Regions from separate parts of the Homo sapiens genome. Here region 2 is linked to region 1. Evidence: promoter capture Hi-C in 16 types of primary human blood cells and fetal thymus (Javierre and others, 2016). All regions are on one chromosome and are shown on one strand. Each heading gives the region's core, a stretch centred on a gene start or on the middle of the fragment in contact. The rest is flanking DNA. Distances are from core to core; before and after follow the strand shown. Region 1 overlaps RHEB (Ras homolog, mTORC1 binding). Region 2 holds the start of PDIA4 (protein disulfide isomerase family A member 4).

Region 1 (3,495 bases), core at 920-3,419:
TCAGGGAGCTGGTACTTTTGGCCATCACGGCAACAGTTAATACAAAGCACTCCCTGAAAGCCAGACTCCCAGAGTTATAGGTGACGTGTCCTTAAAAGCTTTAACATTGTAAATACCAGGAAAAGTACAGGGGACTGGCAGGGAGAATTGTATAGACTACCTGAGAATTATATTTTACCTATTGGTAGTTCTGACAACACTCAAAAAAAAAGAAAAAAAGAAAACGGAAAGCCAAGTAGTGGGCTGGGTGCAGTGACTCATGCCTGTAATCCCAGCACTTAGGGAGGCCGAGGCAGGTGGATCACGAGGTCAGGAGTTCAAGACCATCCTGGCCAAGATGGTGAAACCCAGTCTCTACTAAAAATACAAAAATTAGCTGGGCGGGGTGGCAGGCGCCTGTTATCCCAGCTACTTGGGAGGCTGAGGCAGGAGAATCGGTTGAACCTGGGCAGCAGAGGTTGCAGTGAGCCCAGATCCCGCCACTGCACTCCAGCCTGGGTGATAGAGTGAGACTCTGTCACAAAAAAAAAAAAAAAAAAAAAAGAAAGCCAACTAGTTAAACAAACATAGCACTTTTTTGTTTTATCTGAAGACAACTTTAAAAATAAAGTTTGTGGCATGACAAATCACAATGACAAGTATCCTACTAGTCAAACTGGCTTAATGTATTTAATCAAGAGAACATTCTAAGAAAGGTGTGGAGGCTTTTTATGTGGCTCTACCCCCAGAATATAGGACAAACAGCTCAGCATCACAAAATACCACAATCTAGAAACACAGGTACTCAAATTTCTCTGGTACAGCACCACCATTTGCAAGCAAACATGCCAGTAAGCTCCCAGAAGTGAGCATGCTGAGTAATTCTCAAAAGGGTGGCTTACTAGAAGAAACCTGCTGGCAAAACCTAATCTCCTTCCCCTAAAAAAGACCCCACATACTACAAAATATCCTGGCTCATAATACACTTTAAAATCAAATGCGGCTGGGCATGGTGGCTCACGCCTATAATCCCAGCACTTTGGGAGGCCAAGGTGGGAGGACCACCTGAGGTCAGGCGTTTGAGACAAGCCTGACGTTTGGCCAAGTGGTGAAACCCGTCTCTACTAAAAATACAAAATTAGCCGGGCATAGTGGTGCACGCCTGTAGTGCCAGCTACTCTGGAGGCTGAGGCAGGAGAATCGCTTGAGTCCGGGGCGTGGAGGATGCAGTGAGCCGAGATCGCGCCATTGCACTCCAGCCTGGGTCACAAGAGCGAAACTCCGTCTCGGAAAAAAAAAAAAAAAAAAATCAAATACAAGATTGGGAGCAACTTAACCTCTCCAAAATCGTTTAATATGACTACGCTTGAAAATAAATATGGAGAAGTGGGGTAGGTTGCAGAAATATGAAATACTGAAGACAGAAAATAGGGACTAAAAGTGACCCTGTATCCCACCGGAGACTAAGTTAGCACAGTATTTAACAAGCAACAGTTTGTGAGGACAAGGCTAAGGGGTGGCCTGTCACATCTCCGTCCTCAGGAGGACGCTGAATAGAGGGAAGATAAAACAGAATGGATTTCAACTGGACATAAGGAACTTCTGTAGCCAAAAAAAAAAAAAAAAAAGTGATAAAACTAGCCCTGCTCACCAAAGACTAGAGCTACCATTTCGACATTTGAAAAGGGTAAATCAGTCAAGATCTTTAGGTCATTCTCTTGGGTTGAAATCAGGTAGCCGAGGTACTTGTTGCCTATAACGTGATTATTCAGGGACTACTATTTCCAAATAGTTGCCAATAAGTACTTACTTGACTGACTAGGGAAGGCTCACCCAAGAGCCAGAACACCTCGCGGTCCCAACTCCTCAAAATGCAGAGGAGGAAATCAAGAGAACAGAGACAAGAGCATGGATTCAGGCTGCCAATAAAGGCTGGATCCCAGGTTCCATGTTGATATTTGAACAATTAGTGACTTTGAACCCCTCCATTTGATTCATGGTTACTTCCTGGCTGCAGCTGTTAAAGCTGCCACCTATGCATCCCCTCGGATTCAGCACCGCATCGCACAAGAGTTCCCCTACGACTCTAGGCACCCCGCATCTCTAGCCAAGCTTCTTTCAGCCCTTAATTTCCCCCCGGCTCTCGACGGAGAGGTGGTAAAAGGATGAGTAAGCATGCAGTGGCTGATCTTGGTCAAAGAGCACAGACCCTGGCACAGGCGGTGGAAAGCGCAGTTGGGGAGTGCATCCAGTGAGCGGCAGGCAGGTACAAGCTTCCCATGACAGATAGTCACCCCGTTCCGCAATCACGGGAGCCTCGGAACCCTCGCTTTCACCTCCCCATCCCCTCAACTGTGGCCCGGTGCACGCCTTCTATAGACAGTTACTTCAAAACAGCCCGAAAAGATGAACTAATTTCTCCAGGCTTCCGGATGTCGGGAGACAATACAGCCTCACCCTGAAGCGTGTCTAAGTTCAATCGCTCTGGTTTCACACAGGCCAGAAAACCGCTCGTTCTGTAACACCCCGTCCGCCCCCCAACCCGACCCTAAGCCACCTTATTCAGCAATAAGGCGACTGCTAGGAACTGTTTCAAATGTATGTCAACCTTTTGGGGGAAGAAAAAGAAAACAAAAAGACTTTGGAATTACTTCAACAGCCTGGTTGCAAGTACCTGACCTTATTCCTTCCCGAACAAAAATAGGGCACCGAGAGATCAGACATTCCTTTTTCTCTGTCTTCCTACCCAGGCCGCCAGCAGCATCTCGAGGGCCTCCAGAGGGACCTCTTTTGGGGGATCGCCTAGGTTTCCTATGCAGAAAACTTGCGTTCAGTGCCCAAACGTCCTCTAAATCCCTAGTTTTCTTTACAAGGGTAAACTTCACCACAGATGGAATGAAGCCGAGGCGCTGCTTCCTTTGTTAAAATCCCACGGACTTTCTTTTCCTTACATCGGGGGCGGGGTGGGGGAGACCGCCAGCCCCGGTCACGCGCGCCCGCGGCGAAGGCGGGGAGGCAGGTGTGACTCCCTCGCGGCAGCCTCTAGCGCGGCTCCCCGGCGCCGCCTCACTTCCCCAGACGAGACCCGGACTCCTCGGCGGCCGACGGCCCCCGCCCCGCGCCTCCCACGCCCTCCGCCCGGCCGCCACCTGCCCGCCCGGCCCGCGGAGGGCGCCCAGCTACCGCGGCTCCTCCACCGGCGCGGACGCCGCCCCGACCGCCACCACCTCCGCTCAGAATGGTGGTTACGAAACGCGCGGCCCCCGCCCGCCCCGCCACATGGCCGCGCCGGCTCCAAACTTCGCAGGCCCGGCCGCGACCCGGCTCCCAGGCGAGGCCCCGGCGGCGCGAGGAGGCCGCGCGGCCACCGGCCACTCACCCACAGACCGGTAGCCCAGGATCGCGATCTTCCGGGACTTGGACTGCGGCATCTTGGCGGCCTCCTCAGCCCCGGCCCAACCACATCAACCGCGGCGGCGGTGGCTCCTGCTGCTGTGATCGGCGGCGGCCGCGCCG
Region 2 (3,872 bases), core at 31-2,530, 2.5 Mb before region 1:
CAAACATGATTTGGGTAAAGGTCTCAAGACACAATTTGTAAGCAGTCCCGCTATCGGATTCCTTTCGGCAGGTGTTTTTCTCGCCGAGTGTGGGTTTTTACTTCCTTTTCTATTTGGGCAAAGACTCTTTTTGAATCAGTGACCCACGCAGAAGTTACTCAATCTGTTTGAAAGAGTATAAAGTTCACGATTTCCCTACACACTAACATTATCAAAGAGTGTATATTTATATTAGAACAAACTCAGAAGGTTAAAAAGCTAGTGATTAAAAGTAAGGGCAGAGAGGAAGAAGGTAAAGACCAGTACCTGGATGCCTTATTCTCTAGGAATAACAACTTTTCCTTAATTAGCACTTCCTAATCTTCAGAGTTCTTATGTCTGCAGCTAGCTCACTTCGAAGAAAAATGCAGGGACCATGAAGTAGTTGTTACTATTCCTACTGGAGTACGCGCTTCATGGGCAGGGACCACACTCACAATCTTTTCCTCCCAGAACCCAGTACAGGGACTGGCACACAGTAAATGCTAAATGCAGAAGGAATGGTATCTCTAGTTTCTCAAAGGTGCAAACCAAGCCATCCCTTTCTCCAGAATCTATGGATTAATCATTTCCAAATCTACAGACCACATTTTGAAAAGGAATGCTTGCTGTTCCAAAGAACTCGCACTTGTTTCTTCACGCCCTCGCCCCTTCTCTCCAGTGGCTCTCCCTCTCCCTTCCCACTGCCTGGGCGCGTTCGCCTGGAGTTAGCCTGGACCTGACGAAAATCTGTAAATTAAGGCGAAGGACCCAGCTGCAAAAAAGGCGCTCTGCAGCCCTCTCCCAGCCTCGGGTGACAGGGGTCTTCCAGGGCGTCGGAGCCCAAGAGACCCCGGCCACCTTCCTCTCCCGGGAACCCCAAATCGATCCTGCCACTGCCACAGCCACCGCCCCCGCCCCTTCAACTCCGCCAAGTTTACCCCGGGCTCGGCGCCCATCACTAGTTCTGGAGCTGACCGCGCGGAAGCCCGCCCGCCGGGGTCGCAGGGCCCAGGCCCCCGCACAGCTCTGCAGCCCCCGCAAGCACAGCCCGACCCGCGGCGCGCTTGCCGCTCACCCTCGTCCGGGCCCTCGGCACCCGCCACGGCCAGCAGCTGCACCAGCCCCAAGAGCAGCAGGAGCAGGAAGGCTTTCCGGGGCCTCATGGTAGCGGGGGCGGAGCGCGGCCTCCTAGCGTCGGCGGCCGCTGAGCGCACCGAGAACTCGGGGTCTGGCCGACAGCCCGTCGCTCCTTAGCGACGCGGGGGAGCCGGAAAAACCCACGGAAGTCGTCCCCGGCGATTGGCAGGGGGCGGAGGAAGTCGCGGGCCGGCCAATCCCAGACTGACGCCGGCACGGACCGCGCGCGCCTCGGCCGCGACGAGTCGGCTCCGCCGCCCTAGGCCCTCCCTACTCCTGCGCGCGGCCCTCGGCTGCGCGTTTAAAACTCCGAGCCCTAACGTGAGGTGCCCCCTTCTGATTGGCTGCGCCACAACCACCAATCAGCGGCTGCCACTCGGTTTGCCGGGAGCGCACAGGCCAAGAGGGAGAGCGGGGGAGAACAAAGGCGGCGGGCCGGGCACGGGGAGTGCGGGACCTGGCTACGCCTCGGGGCGCTATTGGCAATCGGTGCCGGGGGCGGGGCAGGAGAGGCGGAGCCTGGGAAATGTGGAGCGGGGCGGGGCTCGGCTCAGCATCCTGCGGCCGAACTTGGCAGTAAGAACACGTGTCGGTACCGGAGCGGTGGGGAGCAGTGGCGAGCAGGGCGGTCCTCGCAACCCGCCGGGGCTCTGGGAAGCTGGAGACCAACGCGGGCGGAGGAGCACGAGCCTGTTTGTTGCTAGAAAGGGGCTCCAAGTCCGCTGCATGTTCGTGGCCTTCTTAATTTCTTTTTCTGCTCGAGCAAATAAAAGTTTCATTTCTCTCCGGAGTATTGAGCTAGAGAGCGGGGAAGAGCATGCAGTAAAGTGAATCCAGACTAGAATCTGGGGAAGCCTCTCTCCAAGGTTGCATCTCGGAGAAACAAGCCATCAGATTCTTGTCTAAACTTTGCCTCGTCTTATTTAGTTTTCTAGTGATTTTCTGCAAAAGGAAATACCAGATAGGCAATCTAGTGGTTTACATAGATCTGAATAAAAGCTTGAGGTTTTCCCTCTTGACCACTTTGGAGAAGAAAACTAGGTTAAGATGACGATTTTTGTATGTCAGAAAAGAAGCCTGTAATGTGCATTAAGTTTGAGACTTTTTTTTAACACCTGGGAGTTTGAGAAGGCAAATAGGGAAAAGAAAAAAAATAGAAACTCAAGTTCAGGAATATTTTCTCGTGTGTGCAGATTATTACGTGAGGAAGAAAAAAGGGATAACTCACAGACCTTAGCAATTAAAAATACTTAATTTTTTTGTTGAATGCCTATTAATCTGATGGTTCCTGGTCAATTTTGTAGGGCAGAACATTATGCAACTGTACACACTGATTTATTAGAGTGCTATGAATGTGGGCCACCAGACAGTTCGGTATCATGTTATTTTATTTTTTGAGACAAGAGTCTTGCTCTGTCACCCAAGCTGGAATGCAGTGGCGCCATCTCCTCTCACTGCAACCTCCGCCTCCTGGGTTCAAGTGATTCTACTGTCTCAGCCTCCCGGGTAGGTGGGACCACAGGCGCCCGCCACCACTCCCTGCTAATTTTTATATTTTTAGTAGAGACAGGGTTTCACCACGTTGGCCTGGCTGGTCTCAAACTCCTGACCGACCTCAAGTGATCCACCCACCTCGGCCTCCCAAAGTGCTGGGATTACAGGTGTGAGCCACCGTGCCCAGCCTTAATATCATGTTAAAGATAGACCTGTTCTTCAAAAAGACAAGTCAGAGTTCTCATCTTTCTTCTTGTTTCCTATGACACTGTTAAACTGAGAGGAATGAGGACCCCATTTGCTCAGTGGTGGGAGAAACACAATTTCACTGGCCTTTTGTTGATACAAAGATAGGAAGAAGGCTCTTGAAGTGCTGTCTGTATATGTGTATAAACACACATATATCTTGTGACATTAAAGTAACAATGTTCTTTTTGAAAGCATTTAGGGTATAGCTATAGAAGTTCATTCAACAAAACAGAACTTTATCAAGTTGGAAAGCTCCTTTCTCTTTATCCCTAAATTTTTCACTCAATTTTGTTATGGGTACAAACAGCACTGTGTTGAGGGTCAGAATGGAGAGAGATGAGAAATGATACTTCCATGACTATATCCAAGATCTCCACAGTTGGTTGTTGTAAGCGTAGAGAGGCTGTCTGTCAAATCATAGATATGAGGCCGGGCACAGTGGCTCACTCCTGTAATCCCAGCACTTTGGGAGACTGAGGCAGGCGGATCATGAGAGGTGGGGAGTTCCAGATCAGCCTGGCCAACGTGGTGAAATCCTGTCTCTACTAAAAATACAAAATTAGCTGAGCATGGTGGCGCGTGCCTGTAATCCCAGCCACCTGGGAGGCTGAGGAGGCAGGAGAATCACTTGAACCCTGGAAGCGGAGGTTGCAGTGAGCTGGGATTGCGCCACTGCACTCCAGCCTGGGCGACATAGTGAGACTCCATCTCAAAAAAAAAAAGAATCATAGAAACGGACCCTAGTTTGGAAATTCATTCATGTAAATGAACTTCTCCCTGGTTTATCCCCAGAGCTGTGATTTAACACTATTATGCTGGGTTTACAGACCAATTTGAACATGCATTTTCCTCTGCTTCTGCATAGACTTACTAGAGAAGAGGTCACACCACTGCATTCAGCCTGGGTGACAAAGCGAGACCTTATCTCAAAAAAAAAAAAAAAAATCAAAGATCAATCAACTATAAATTTA

What was found. The method cuts DNA at HindIII sites, captures the fragments that hold promoters and counts their contacts. A CHiCAGO score of 5 or more calls a contact.
Region 2: the fragment with the promoter of PDIA4 here is called in contact with a fragment that was not itself captured in region 1 in 1 of 17 cell types (total CD8 T cells); the score reaches 5.3 in total CD8 T cells.

What each region holds. Positions count from the first base shown.
Region 1 is chr7:151,516,102-151,519,596 of GRCh38, forward strand. It overlaps RHEB (Ras homolog, mTORC1 binding), which reads right to left. Exons shown (of 8, transcript NM_005614.4): 1 at 3,359-3,495. The coding sequence starts at 3,410. Among named protein-coding and RNA genes, the nearest start is that of RHEB, 2.0 kb to the right of the region's middle. RefSeq lists an enhancer at 1,925-1,974 and silencers at 3,005-3,114, 3,045-3,474, 3,185-3,304, 3,475-3,495. The HindIII fragment of the contact is 161 bases long and covers 2,090-2,250 here.
Region 2 is chr7:149,027,225-149,031,096 of GRCh38, forward strand. It overlaps PDIA4 (protein disulfide isomerase family A member 4), which reads right to left and starts at 1,281. Exons shown (of 10, transcript NM_004911.5): 1 at 1,097-1,281. The coding sequence starts at 1,184. RefSeq lists enhancers at 401-995, 996-1,589 and silencers at 914-963, 1,054-1,123, 1,194-1,773. The HindIII fragment of the contact is 15,108 bases long and covers 1-2,155 here.